Linked DNA regions of Homo sapiens: regions 1, 2, 3 and 5 are each linked to region 4. Evidence: promoter capture Hi-C in 16 types of primary human blood cells and fetal thymus (Javierre and others, 2016). All regions are on one chromosome and are shown on one strand. Each heading gives the region's core, a stretch centred on a gene start or on the middle of the fragment in contact. The rest is flanking DNA. Distances are from core to core; before and after follow the strand shown. Region 1 overlaps TBC1D16 (TBC1 domain family member 16). Region 2 overlaps TBC1D16 (TBC1 domain family member 16). Region 3 overlaps TBC1D16 (TBC1 domain family member 16). Region 4 holds the start of CBX2 (chromobox 2). Region 5 overlaps TBC1D16 (TBC1 domain family member 16).

What was found. The method cuts DNA at HindIII sites, captures the fragments that hold promoters and counts their contacts. A CHiCAGO score of 5 or more calls a contact.
Region 1: a contact is called between a fragment that was not itself captured here and the fragment with the promoter of CBX2 in region 4, in 1 of 17 cell types (neutrophils). The highest score is 5.3, in neutrophils.
Region 2: a fragment that was not itself captured here is called in contact with the fragment with the promoter of CBX2 in region 4 in 10 of 17 cell types (M2 macrophages, total CD8 T cells, monocytes and 7 more); the score reaches 7.9 in M2 macrophages.
Region 3: a contact is called between a fragment that was not itself captured here and the fragment with the promoter of CBX2 in region 4, in 17 of 17 cell types (non-activated CD4 T cells, monocytes, M0 macrophages and 14 more). The highest score is 18.5, in non-activated CD4 T cells.
Region 5: a fragment that was not itself captured here is called in contact with the fragment with the promoter of CBX2 in region 4 in 2 of 17 cell types (M1 macrophages and M0 macrophages); the score reaches 5.8 in M1 macrophages.

Annotation. Positions count from the first base shown.
Region 1 is chr17:80,016,817-80,019,516 of GRCh38, forward strand. The region is part of intron 1 of TBC1D16 (TBC1 domain family member 16); the gene reads right to left. Among named protein-coding and RNA genes, the nearest start is that of TBC1D16, 18 kb to the right of the region's middle. The HindIII fragment of the contact is 1,876 bases long and covers 503-2,378 here.
Region 2 is chr17:79,970,308-79,973,007 of GRCh38, forward strand. The region is part of intron 3 of TBC1D16 (TBC1 domain family member 16); the gene reads right to left. Among named protein-coding and RNA genes, the nearest start is that of LINC01979, 45 kb to the left of the region's middle. The HindIII fragment of the contact is 7,540 bases long and covers 1-2,700 here.
Region 3 is chr17:79,987,562-79,990,261 of GRCh38, forward strand. The region is part of intron 3 of TBC1D16 (TBC1 domain family member 16); the gene reads right to left. Among named protein-coding and RNA genes, the nearest start is that of TBC1D16, 47 kb to the right of the region's middle. RefSeq lists an enhancer at 286-1,157. The HindIII fragment of the contact is 2,251 bases long and covers 281-2,531 here.
Region 4 is chr17:79,776,845-79,779,544 of GRCh38, forward strand. It overlaps CBX2 (chromobox 2), which reads left to right and starts at 1,304. Exons shown (of 5, transcript NM_005189.3): 1 at 1,304-1,463; 2 at 1,540-1,583; 3 at 2,518-2,583. The coding sequence starts at 1,392. RefSeq lists silencers at 1,109-1,488, 1,499-1,568 and an enhancer at 1,964-2,557. The HindIII fragment of the contact is 13,003 bases long and covers 1-2,700 here.
Region 5 is chr17:79,949,151-79,951,850 of GRCh38, forward strand. It overlaps TBC1D16 (TBC1 domain family member 16), which reads right to left. Exons shown (of 12, transcript NM_019020.4): 5 at 2,300-2,447; 6 at 1,261-1,428; 7 at 567-715. Among named protein-coding and RNA genes, the nearest start is that of LINC01979, 24 kb to the left of the region's middle. RefSeq lists enhancers at 1, 2-585, 586-1,169, 1,754-2,337, 2,338-2,700. The HindIII fragment of the contact is 4,940 bases long and covers 1-2,700 here.

The DNA of each region.
Region 1 (2,700 bases), core at 191-2,690, 240 kb after region 4:
CTGCTGACTTCCCAAGCACAATATTCCAAAGATGTTCCAGCCAGCCCAGGAGTGGCCTTCCCATTCCCATGTCTTTCCTCTGACAGATCCATCACCCCCATCTCCCCATCTCAGAGATCCCGACGTCAACATCACTTGTGAAAATCACCAGTTCTGGGGGTGGGGACCCAGCTCAGATCCTCACCTCCTCAGCCTTGAGCCACAGACGCCCTCTGCCTGATCTCAACCGTCTCCAGGGCCCTCATCCACTCAGCTCTCCCTAGCCCACCCCTTTTTAGGCTCCCTCAACATGTCCAATGAAGGCTGCAGAAGAAAGTCGACCCCTTGGTGCAGGGGTCAGCAAACTTGTTCTGCAAAAGGCCAGAGAGTAAATGCTTTGGACTCTCTGGGCCGGAGAGTCTCTGTCGTGACCACTCAACTCGGCCCTTGGAGTGCAGGAGCAGCCACAGACAGTAAATGATGGGCATGACTGTGACAGTGAAGCTTTACTGACAGACACTCAAGCTTAAATTCTAGATCATTTTTCACGTGTCTCAAAAAGAATTCTTTCCATTTTTCAACCCCCTTAAAAAACGTAAAAACCGGCCAGGCGCGGTGGCTCACGCCTGTAATCTTGGTACTTTGGGAGGCCTAGGTGGGCGGATCACCTGAGGTCGGGAGCTCGACACCAGCCTGACCAACATGGAGAAATTCCATCTCTACTAAAAATACAAAATTAGCCGGGCGTGATGGTGCATGCCTGTGATCCCAGCTACTCGGGAGGCTCAAGCGGGAGAATCGCTTGAACCCAGGGGGCAGAGGTTGTGGTGAGCCTAGATCGCTCCATTGCACTCCAGCCTGGGCGACAGAGCAAGACTCCATCTCAAAAAAAAAAAAAAAAAAAAAAAGTAAAAACCATCCTTAGCTCACAGGCTGTACAAAACAGGTGGAAGGCTGGCTTTGGCCTGTGGGTTGCAGATGGCAGTGCCCTGGCATAGACCATCTGACCAAATCCAGGGGATTCTTCTCCACCTATCCAAACCAGCTCTCTGCCAACCTCTCCAGGAAGCCTTCTGGCCACTCTTGGCCTAAACACTTCATCCCACACAGGGGCATATGACAACCAAGTGACGAAACTTAATTAAAAAAATCACACTGCAAACTACAAATCAAAAAACATATTGTCCTTCCCAATAATCACATGGAAAAGCTATGTTCTGTTCTAATGTTATCCAGAATAGTTTAAGAATTCAAGAATTCTTCAAGAATTGCAAGGTCAGTTAATAAGCCCTGCAAGAAAATTGCTCGCCGTCCTCTAGACCAGCCATGTCCAACAGAAACACTGCAGGAGACATAGATACAATTTTAAATTTTCTGGTAAGCAAAAAAAAAAAAAAAAGTGAAATTAATTTTAATAATTTTTAGCATAATATATCCAAAATATTATTATTTCAGCATATAGTCAATATGAAAACATTATTTCTTTATTTTTTTTTTATTTTTTGAGACGGAGTCTCACTCTGTAGCCCAGGCTGGAGTGCAACGGTGCAATCTCGGCTCACTGCAAGCTCCGCCTCCCAGGTTCACGCCATTCTCCTGCTTCAGCCTCCCGAGTAGCTGGGACTACAGGCGCCCGCCACCATGCCCGGCTAATTTTTTTGTATTTTTAGTAGAGATGGGGTTTCACCATGTTAGCCAGGATGGTCTCGATCTCCTGACCTCGTGATCCGCCTGCCTCGGCCTCCCAAAGTGCTGGGATTACAGGCGTGAGCCACCGTGCCCAGCCTGAAAAAATTATTAATGAAATCTTTTACATTCTTTTTTTTTTTTTAGAGACAGGTTGTCACCCAGGCTAGAGTGCAGTGGTGTGATCACAGCTCACTGTATTCTGAAACTCCTGGGCTCAAGGAATCCTCCTGCCCAGTCTCCCAAATAGCCTGGACTAAAGGCACATGCCACCAGGTCCCGCTAATTTTTTTATTTTTTGTAGAGATGAGGTTTCACTTTTTTGCCCAGGCTGGTCTTGAACTTCTGGCCTCAAGTGATCCTCCTGCCTCAGCCTTCCAAAGTGTTAGGATTACAGGCGGGAGCCACCGCACCTGGCCTATTTTATGTCCTTAAAGTCTCCAAAGTCTGCTGTGCATTTTGCACTTAAGCACGTCAAAGTTCTGCTCAGCCACGTTTTGGGTGCTCTGTAGCCTGCGCGGTGTCCACACTGGACAAGGCCGCAGCGGGGCTGGAGCCCACCTCCTTCTGTGTTTCAAATGGCTCTACTCAGTGTGATCGCTCCAGTTGCCAGAGCTGGCTGCACACAGCTCTCAGCTGCTTCCCCAAATCAAAACCCTCTTTAAGTGAAAATGTTTTGCCAGCACTGAGGATAATCAAAAGAATGTGCTGGAAGCTTTAAAGGAGATTCCGAAATACAAGTGTTCAAAATACAGCATTTTCTCCCATACCATGACAGGCAGAACCTCACTGTGGCTCTGCGAGGTGCGTCCCAACAGTGCAGCTTTACGGAGGAGAAGACAGGTTCTGACCACTCAGGGTCATTTCGTGAGCGGGAAACCCTGCAGCGTGAGACCTTCGTCCCCCACGTGCAGAACTCCGGCTCCTCCATCACCCGCCACCTGGGACACCAGGACAACCCCCCCCCGCCCCTCCCAGATTGTTCTGGAGAGACTGGGCTCTTTTTGGAGAAATGGAGCATGTCTATTAAACATT
Region 2 (2,700 bases), core at 171-2,670, 190 kb after region 4:
ATGAGGTTTCTTTTTGGGGGGATGAAAATGTTCTGGAATCAGGTTGTGATTACACAGCTTCATGAATGTACTAACTGCCACTGCATTGTACACTTTAAAAGGGTGACTTTTATGCTATGTGAATAAAAGGTCACTATGCACCCGCTCTCTCCCGTCTGATTTATCTTGTACATCTCCCACCAAAGGGTCTTGTACAAAGCATGGCCTCAGAAAATATTTGTTCTGCAATAAAAAGTTCTGGGTGTCCCCCACCCTCTCAACCTGCAGACAACGAGACAAGGTTGCCACCTGTGTAGAGCTTCATTGTGGTGGGAAGTCAGGCAGCAAACGGTAAACGGGTCATGGGGTGCTCTAAGGGAATGAGCACAGGGTGGGAGGTGGAGGGGCTGGGCACGGCCACTCTAGAGAGGTGGACCTGGGGGTCCTCAGTGAAGCCTGCAGAAAGGTGAAGAGCTAGCAGAGAGCCCAGGGGAAATGCATGCCTGAAATAAGCTAAGCACATCAGAGAAAGCACCAGTCCTTGTACGAGTCCCAGTGCAAAAACAGCGCCACCCTGGAAACGGAGAGTCAGCCCGGTGCAAAAACAGCGCCACCCTCTGGAAACAGAGATGCAGTTTGCTCTTGCATTGTTGAGTTTTACGTTCCTCCCAGTGTGGGAATGGAAGTGATCTCATATTGTAAATAATTTTACATTAATATACACTCCCTGTATTTTTATTTTTTATTTTTTTTTGAGATGGAGTCTGTCTCCATTGCCCAGGCTGGAGTGCAGTGGCGCTATCTCGGCTCACTGCAACCTCCACCTCTCGGGTTCAAGGCATTCTCCTGCCTCAGCCTCCTGAGTAGCTGGGATTACAGGCGTGCACCACCAAGCCCGGCTAATTTGTGTATTTTTAGTAGAGATGGGGTTTCACCATGTTGGCCAGGCTGGTCTCAAACTCCTGGCCTCAGGTGATCCACCCACTTCGGCCTCCCAAAGTGCTGGCATTACAGGTGTGAGGCACCGCACCCGGCCCACACTCCCAGTATTTTTTAAGTTGCTTAACATTTGCAAGTGGTAAATAAATTCACGTTGTGGTTAAAAATTTTAAAAAGACTGAAGTGTGCAGAATCGGCATTGGAAGCCTGTCCCCCAGGTCATCCTGGTCTGGAAGCCCTGTCCCCCAGGTCATCCTGGTCAGCAGTTGAGTGACTCTTCTTCCAAAGTTCGTTCTGCAGGTTTACACACACTTGAAGGTATCTTCCCATGTTGCTGGTAGACACCATTTTGGAATAATGGCTCAGGGGCAATTAGAAAAGAAGAGTCTTTAACGTATTCTTCAACTTGACTCATAAAAGTAGAGTCAATCACTCTTCTCTACAACAGTCAACTTCTCTCAAGGAAGACCTGAGGAAGCTGGTGCCCGACCCACCAGGAGACATGGACCTCATAGGAGGTGAGCTGAGGATGTGGATAATTTGGACACCACTTGGACTGTGAGCTGCTGGGAGGTGTCAGACAGGAGCATCCCACGGGGTAGGGATGGGGGCTCTGGAAGGCTTCCTCTCGGAGCAGGTGGCATGGGGGCTGGCTGTGGGGGTCTTTGTGGGGAAGAAAGAGCCTGAGTGGGTGCAGGGACAAGGAAGGTCTGCGGAGGACAGGTCGGAGTGCTCTGAAAACGGCCCTGGCATTGATTTTTAAAAAGGGTCGCTCAAAAGAACTGAAAGCAGGGACTCGAACAGGTATGTGTACCCCGTGTTCACAGCAGCATCATTCATGATGGCCAGAGGCTGAAGCAGCCCAGTGTCCATCGATGGGTGAATGGAGAAAGAAAGTGTTGTCCCTGCATGCAATGGCAGGTTATTTAGCTATAAAAAGGAAGGAAATTCTTTTTTTTTCTTCCCCCTGAGAGGGAGTCTTGCTTTGTCACCCAGGCTGGAGTGCAGTGGCTCAATCTTGGCTCACTGCAACCTCCGCCTCCCGGATTCAAGCGATTCTCCTGCTTCAGCCTCCTGAGTAGCTGGGATCACAGGCGTGTACTACCACACCTGGCTAATTTTTGTATTTTTAGTAGAGACAGGGTTTCACCATGTTGGCCACGCTGGTCTCGAACTCCTGACCTCGTGGTCCACCCGCCTTGGCCTCCCAAAAAAAAAGTGCTGGGATTGCAGGTGTGAGCCACTGCGCCCTGCTAAAAAGGAAGGAGATTCTGACACAGGCTACAGCATGAATGACACCTGACGTTACGCTAAGTGAAAGACGCCAGACACAGAAGGTCAAACCCTGCATGATTCCACTCCTATCAGGTCCCCAGAGCAGTCAATCTCAGAGGCAGAAAGTAGAATAGAGGCTGCCAGGGGCTTGGGGGAGAGGAGATGGGGAGTTGTTTAACGGGAACAGAGTTTCGGTTGGGAAGATGAAAAAGTTCTGGAGGTGGAGAGTATGGTGATGGCTGCATAACAATGTGAATATACCCACTGCCACTCAACTGTGCACTTACAAATGATTAAGGCTGGGTGCGGTGGCTCACACCTGTAATTCTAGTACTTTGGAAGGCCGAGGCAGGAGTGGATCGCCTGAGCTTAGGAGTTCGGGACCAGCCTGGGTAACATGATGAAACCCCGTCTCTACTAAAATACAAAAAATTAGCCAGGCATGGTGGTGCCTACCTGTAATCCCAGCTGCTCAGGAGGCTGAAGCGGGAGAATCACTTGAACCTG
Region 3 (2,700 bases), core at 156-2,655, 210 kb after region 4:
ATAAGCAGGTACAGAAGTTTGCCTGGTGACCAGGAGTCATGACTCTTTCCGAATGAAGGTGGGGATGGGGGTAGGGAATGTCCCCATGAAGGTAGCCCCTGGCTGGGCATTTTCCACTCCCAGCCACAGCCTCCCTCTGCGGGCAGAACCCTGGGTGCTGCAGGGAGCTGGTTCTCAGGGAAAAGGGAATTAAGTCAGTACTGGGAGATTTGGGTTCCACAGAGTTTAGGGGCTCCTACAAACAGCGGCTTACGGGCTGGTGAGGAATTTCCCATCCTGAAGCTTTTAAAGCAGACAAACACATGAGTGCTGGGTGGGGGCGGGGTGCTGGGAGATGCAGAGGCTCAGAAAAACCCTCCGAGGCTCTCGGATTTTACGCCTGCATGAGATTTCGAGGGAAGAATCCTAAATGTGGGGAAATGAGGTTGCCCAGCAATTCTGAATGTGGTTTAAAAAAAAAATTAGGTGGGGGAGAATGAGACGATATTCAATATTTCCTTCTGATTCAAACGAAATACTTCTAAGTTCTTCTCTGTGAAAGCGTGTGTGTGTTTAGAAGGGAGAGGGGGATGATAGCACGTCCTGCCAGAAGCCGTTTTATTTACTAGTTTGGATGCTTCCCCTGACGCCTACCTGGGAGGTGCTTGCCTGGCCACCAGCCAGGGCCGTGGCTCCTCGGCAAGTGGGCGTCCGCCGAGCCTTTGATGCACTCTCCAAAGTCACAGAGCAAAACAACACGCTGAACAAACACCACCACCCTGAAAAGTCACCAGCCCATGGGCCTCTCCCTGGCTCCAGCTGTGGCTGATTTACCCAAACTGAAACATTTTCCTTTTGTCGACTGTAGAGAGCTATGAGTCAGGTCCAAGCTCCACTGGGCGTATGCCCAAGGGGCAGAGGGGGCAGCAACCGGACGGAAGCTGCCCAATCATAAGACCATGGCTGAAAGTCAAACGCGCCCAGAGTCCACAGTCGACCACCTCCCGCTCGGCAAGCCAGGGTCCTGGTGAACGCACGTGCCTGCGTTCTGTACCAAACAGTTGTCAACACACACCAGCAACTTAACAAATCAACTCCAACAAAGGGGAAAAAATTAACATTAAGGGCAAAAAGACTTTTTCTGGAGGGTCCTATGCACCAGATGTTGGCTCTTTAATTGGCAGTCAACCTCAAAGCAAAACTTAGAAGGCCCCTGCTTGTTTTATCAGTTAGAGCCACAGAAAATCAAAGTCCAATCCCGCTAAGCATGGTGCTGTGTAGCCCGGCCAGCCCCGTGGAAGTCCTCAGCCTGGTCCCGTCTTCTGGGCTCTGCTGGGCTGGACGGTGCCACCCTCCCCAACCCGCACCTGCCCGCCGGCCCCAGGCCCTCCCTCAGGACCCAGCACCTTCAGTCCTCCTGCCGAGAAGAAGCCTTTCATCAGTAAAAGAGAAAACGGCTTCTCCAAAGGAAGTTTCTTAACTTGAAAAAACACCATGATTAGGGAAACTCCTCCATCGTCCAAGATACAAACACAAACTCCCAAACACCTGTCAATCCTTCTCAGGGCTCCACATGGCCCAAAGGACACCCCAAATGTGGAGGACCACTCAAGACCCTCAAATGCAGCACCGTGTGCCCCCTGAACAGGGATCCCCACATTCGATGAAAACAAAATTGGCCAGCGCAGGAACTTTTGCCCATGACTTAAGCACAGCAAAGTCCCCAAAGCCAGAATCCCTCCCAGGACCTGCCCGACGGGTTTTATCACTGGACGCATCAAAGCCCCTCTCACTGGTGGTTGGTTCAGCAGAGCCCTGGGCCTCGGGCCTGCCCTGCTCTGACAGCTCCCACACTGTGGCCTTGATCGGGCCCTTTTCCACTCTGTGCCTGCTTTGAGTAACAGGCTCCCACAAAAACACTGTGCTGGGGTATTTCCAGGATGAAAAGCCACGGTTCGCTTTGCCTGCCATGGACAGAGTCATAAATACGAGTTGTCGTTGCCTCTTCCCAACAGTCTGGCATGGCAAACTGGCCTTGTGGAGTTCGGAATTGTTCTAGATACTGCTCATGTATTCTCCAGCAGCTCTAGCTGGTTCTGCCCAGATACCTGGCAATGCCAAAGGCCGAGAGGCCAAGACACTACAACCTTTGTTCAAATACACGAACATCCTCAAATACACGAATGTCCTCTCTGCACAAGCAGAGCAGCCTCAGCATCGGCCCTCGCAAGTCCCACCAGAGAACGGTATTGAAAAGATGACTGGGGTCAAGGGGTGCGGAGAGGGACCCACTGTACCCTCATGGCCACTCTAGCGCCAGCCCTTCTGTAATGACCCCCTCTGGATTCCCAAAAGTCAGCCGAGGGGTCCCCACCCTCCTGGGGTGGCTGGGGTGTTGCTGCCCACCCCCAGGGGCAGGCCTGTGTGCAGCATCCATGCCCAGAAACCTGCGCTCAGATTTCCCAGTTCCCAGAAGACAACAGGGAGAGTCTATTTTTCTAAGCTCACTAGGTAAAGTGTTACTTCCTGATCTAATCTTGCCAGGCTCTGGAAGCTTCCGTCAAGGTTTTCCCACACTCCATGTCAGGTCTCTGACATGAACCAGCTTTCAGAGTCTAACGACTAGATTTGACTTTCAGCTGCTCGGACGGAGGCTTCAACTCAGCCTGAACTAGCCGCGTGGACAGCAGCCGTAGCCCTCACAAGGCGTGTGCGGTGACG
Region 4 (2,700 bases), core at 54-2,553:
GTAGGCCTTTCTGTAAAAACAAAAAAACACATTTCTCCTGCAGAACCCTTTATAAATATGGTTTTGATGATCACAATTACATTGAGACAGTCTCCTACAACAAGAAACGACTTTTGGATCTGCTCAACAGAAAGAGAATTTTGCAGCTGTGTTCAAGGAAGCAAGAAAAGCAGAGAGTGAATTTTCATGGAGTTAGACTGCGTTGAGACGAATGAAGCTAAGGCTCAGGTCTCTTTCATTACGTGTTTGACTTGTCCTGATTCAAAATCTAAATAACTTAAAGGGTGATTCTTCATGGAATTCGAATCTTAACACCGGAATAAAAGGGTAGCCTGCTGACGACGATCACAGGGAGGACAAGGGGTCACCCCCACTTTCATAACATGGCCTGACCCTTTTCTGCCGCGGACAATTGATCCGAAGGACGCCGGCTGCCCAGCCCTGGCGGGCCACTACTGACCTAGTCCGAAGTTAGGAACAGCCTTGCAAACCGCCCCCTCCCCCTCCATTTCATCAAAATCGGGGAACAAATTCAGAAAAGGTGCAGCTGGTTTTCTCCCTACACGTGCCCTAAAACTCGGGGGCTGGATCCACTTTTCATAGCTGTTTAATAAGAACTCCGGGCAGTTCGTATTACTTCTTTCTCAGAGTGCTTGGTGGTTTAAGTTAAAGCATTTTCCTCTCTCGCCTTTGGGGGAAAAAGCCTCGGCTGCTGGGGTTTGTGGGCCCCTCCCCCGGACTTCGTCTTCCTTTCCTTCCCCAGCCCCCGACCCGTTTTGCTCTCGTCCAAAACAGAGCGACTCCCCCGCTGCCGAGGAAAAGCCAGTTCAAGAAGCCGGGGGAAGGGTGGGGCCCCGCGTGCCCCGGAGCAGCGCCCCTCGAAGGCGGGGGCAGGAAGCAGCCGCCGCGCCCCGTCCCGCTTCCCTCCCTTCGGGCCAGAACAATGGCTTTTTGCCCGGAAAACGGAGTTGGGAGCAAGGGCGGGCGCGCCCCGGGAATCACGCGGGACTCGGTGGGCGCCCCAGGCCCGAAGTCCCTAGGCACCTCCTCCCCCAGCCAGGGGCCCGCCCGCGCCCCCACCCCCGCCCCCGCCCCCGCCCGGGGCCCCGCGCGGGACCCCCCGCCGGAGCGCGAGGCCCAGCCCGCCGCGGACAATGCGCGCCCCGCCCCGCCCCGCACCCGCCCCCCCTCGCTGATTGGCCCGCACGGGATTTGGGCAGCGCGCGGGGGCGGGCGGCGGGCCGGGGCGCGGGCGCGGAGCGGCGGTGCGCGTGCGCGGGGCGGGCCGGCGCCGGGCGGGGGCGGTGCTTTGTGTGCTGCCGGCGGGGCGCGCGGCGGTCCGGGCGGGTGACTGGCGGCGGGCGCCGCGGTCGGGCTGGCTGCCGGGCAGCATGGAGGAGCTGAGCAGCGTGGGCGAGCAGGTCTTCGCCGCCGAGTGCATCCTGAGCAAGCGGCTCCGCAAGGTGCGTGCGGCCCGCCGGGCCCCCCGCCCGCCGCCCGCTGTCCGTCTGGCTCACGGCCCCTCTTCTCTCCCCGCAGGGCAAGCTGGAGTACCTGGTCAAGTGGCGCGGCTGGTCCTCCAAGTGAGTCCCCCGCGACGCCGCGCCCCCCTCCCGCCCCCTCGCCCGGGGGTGGGGACGTGGAGCCCCTCGGCCGCGCCGTCCGGTGGCCTGGGGGCGCCCGCGGGCAGAGCGGGAAGTTCGCGGGGTCCCCGCGGGCTCCTCCGGCTCTGAGGGGGGCGGGGGCCGCCCGGCCCGAGGTTGCCCTTTGTTTACACGCCCGCGGGTGCAGAGCTGGGCGGCCCCCCGCGCCAGAACCTCCTCGGCTGCCGCGCCGCGCTCCCCCCAACCCCCGTCCCGGCCGGGAGGGAGGCGCGGGATGCAAGCCCCCCTCCTCTTGGCCAGATTCTCCCCGCTGTAACCTGAGCTTGCTATTGATGGATGTAGAGTTTCTTTTTTTTTTTCTTTCTTTTAATGGAAGGGAGGGTGTTTGGCATCCCCGGAAGGGGCTCTCTGCACAGCTGCTCCCGCGGCCCCGTTTCTGCGTCTTCCCGGACCCCGCTCTTTCTTCGCTACCCCTCGAGGTGCCCCGGCCCGCGCGCCACATTGTTCTGGATCTCGGGCTGGGCGCCTGTGCCCCTCCCTGCATGCTGGACCTGCCTTCCCTTCCTCCTCTGGCTCCGGGCCAGGGTTTGGGGGAATCCCTCTCTGCAACTTTGCGTTTTATGGGGGTTTGTTTTTCTCCCAGGCAGAGACTGTGGGAGTCCTCTTGTGGCCTTGTTTTAATTGGGGGGTTGGAGCGGCAGTTTCCCTTTGGGTCTGAGGTTAGAGTGCTGGCTTGGTGGGGGGTGGCCAGCCTCCAAAACCTGGGTTTGGACTTTGAGAAGTGCCATGGTGCTACGGTGCCACTGCCATCGGCCCAAGTCGAGGAGCGGTGAGGGCGAGCCCCCTCGGGCTGCCTTGCAAAGCGGTGATCATCAGCCTGGCGTCTAATGCTGCCCTGTCCTCTGCTTTGCAGACATAACAGCTGGGAGCCGGAGGAGAACATCCTGGACCCGAGGCTGCTCCTGGCCTTCCAGAAGAAGTGAGGACGCTGACAGCACTGGGGAGGGTGTGGGGGAGGGACGGTGGCTGGTTGGAGTCGTGCTGGGCGCTGCTCGCCTGCCGGGAGGCTGGAGCTGGGGCTGTGGTCTGAGGTCCC
Region 5 (2,700 bases), core at 49-2,548, 170 kb after region 4:
CCCGGATGCGGCGGATGGGTGGCGTGTATCCAAGGCTCTCCTTGATATTAACTCAGCCTCACAGTCTCCAGCGTCCCAGGAAGGAGAGCAAGTTGCAGCCCAGTGGGTAATGAGGCCTTGGCCCTGGCCCAGCGTTCTGGAGGGGAGCTGAGCACAGCCCAGGGGCTTCACCCAGTCCCAGCCTCCTGGAGAGAGAGCTGAGCCCAGTCCCGGGTTAGCAGATCCCAAGTGGGACACAGTCTCCGGATGCCTTCACCCCTCCAGGCCCTGCTCCCAGCCCCAGCCTTCAGCTGTGGGACGTCAGCGCCTAGTTAAGTCTGTTGAACGAGAATTCTAAAACCTTGACATGTGAGCTAACGAGCCCCGCAGCTCCGAGGCCCGAGTGCTTGGTTTAATGACTGCACTTATCCCACCCTATCACTCACGTTCCTGGGAGACCCATTTTTGAAAGAAACTATGGGTCACGAAACATATTATCAATGCTGAATTGCACCTCAAATTGCCTTTTCAAATGACATTTTCCTCCGCGGCTCGGCGGGGTGGGCCGGGCTGGCCCCGGCGGTTACCTTTTCTGCTGGATCTCAGAGTACTCCTTTCGCTTCTGCAGCCGCAGCGCCTCCCGCTCCTCCGACGTGGACTCGTGGCTGTAATAGCGCAGCAGGAAGGGCCAGACCTCCCCGCGGATTGACACATCAATACCGCCAAAGAAAATGGCCTGGAGGAAGCGGCAAAAGTTGGGGAGGGGATAAAATGGGGCAGCTCAAAGAACCCCCAAATCCCCAGAGATGTGTGTTTTGGTGGTTTTTGGTGCGCCTTGATTCAGATCTCTGCAATTTGCACATATTTACAAGGGGAAAGCAGTGGCCTTCAATTCCCATACAGGACACAAACCCGGCTCATTTCAATGTCAATGCCCCCCCTGGGGTGGCGCTCAGATTAACGTGTCGTTCTCACGTCATGGCCTAATCCCTGGTTTTGGAAATGCTGCATTTCACTGCAAACCCTTCTATGCAGGCTGACACGGTATCCCCCCAAACCCTCGAGGGAGGTGTTGTGTTTTGTTTTTTTTTTTCAACGCAGCAGCTTTGATTGCTTTATCGGTGTGTTCACAGAGAGCCTCACACAAGAAAACGGGGCCCTCACGAGGAGGTGGCCCGTGGGTGCGGGCGGGCGGCCAGGCCCCGGCCCTCCTTCCCTCTCGCTCGTTCCCGGTTCCCGGCCGGCTCTCCGCGGGGCCAGCTGGGCGGACCCGGACCTCACCTTCCGCAGCTTGTACTCCTCCTCCACCTGGCCCAGCTCATTCAGGTGGTTGAGCCAGGCGGAGACGCCGAGCCTCTTGTACATGCTCTCCTCGGGGTGCGTCTCGGAGGACGGCAGCTTGGGGCGGCGGATGGAGAACTGCATGCATGTCTTATCGGGGGCGACCTGCTGGACGGGAGGAAAACTGGGCAAAGGTCAGGATCTCAGCCGCGCGGCTTCAGAGGCCAGCAGTGCTTTTCCCAGGAATAAAAGCCTCTCTCTCTTCTGAAAGGAGGGCAAGGGCCGTCCCCTGCATACAAACCCCTAAATGGCGAGTGTAATTAGGCGCAATTAAAATGAAAATACCTTCATCTTAAAATCGGTTTCCCTCTGCGGCTCTCTCCTCCCCGGCCCACTGTGCCGCCGCCCCCCACTCTCTCCAACCCCAGCCGCAAAAACGGAATGAATGCCTCGTTCGGCCTAACTTCCCTCTGCCGGGAGGGCCTGCAATGAATTACATGTGATTGGCCACATACAAAGGGATCGCTGTTCTGCGAGCAGGGAGCCAGCCTGTCAGATTGCCTCCGCGAGCAGTCACGAATCCAGGGCAAAACTGCAGCTGACATTTAATTCAAAAATCAAAGGTTGTTCAATGTAGGGGGAAAAAAAGCCATGCTACTGTAATAAGGGAAGCCAGCAGGAGGCTCTGCGGGAAGGAAGGGAATTTTAAAATCGGCCCCATTTCTAATAAGCACATACAGTACCTTAAACAGATAATTAAAGAGCTCTTATTACATTTGTACGTAGATTGAGCAAAATATGGCAGGAAGTCTTGTCAAAACATGATTTTTCAAGTGCAGGGCACTGACTTTACCGAAAGCCCTGGGCAAAGGTTTCAAACCCAAAGTTGCTGCTCTGACGGCCAAAAACTACCGTGGGTCACACCCCGTAAGCCCCCGGGGCCCGGGGACCCCAGACACAGGACCCAGGAGGGAGATGGGGCCCGTGGGGGGTGGGGAGTGTCAACCGCTGGGCATTCTGGGGCCGTCTGCTGGGCTACCTGGTCTTTGAGCTGCATCTCGGTGCAGTATTTCCACTGCTGGAACACGTCAGACAGCTTGTCCAGGCCGCCGTGGTGGAAGTGGAAAACCTTGTACTGGCTCTCTCGGCTGGCAACGACCAGCTGGCCGCTGGTGCAGGCCTCGTCGCTGAAGGGCCATTGGAAGGGGGAGAGGGAAGCCCGATGAATATGTAAACACGGGGGTTTTATTTCCAAGTATAATCAGAGGCCACTGTCGCCAACCTCAGAAGCAGGAAACAGTGAGTCCCAGTGGAGTTGGCTGCTAGCGGGAGGGGACAGAACTACACCGAACAAAAACCACCACCCCCTTTGCCGAAGATGGCAAAACTGCTCCTTCCTGGGGGGCCCTGGAGCTCCTCTCTGGAGACCTGCCAGAGTGG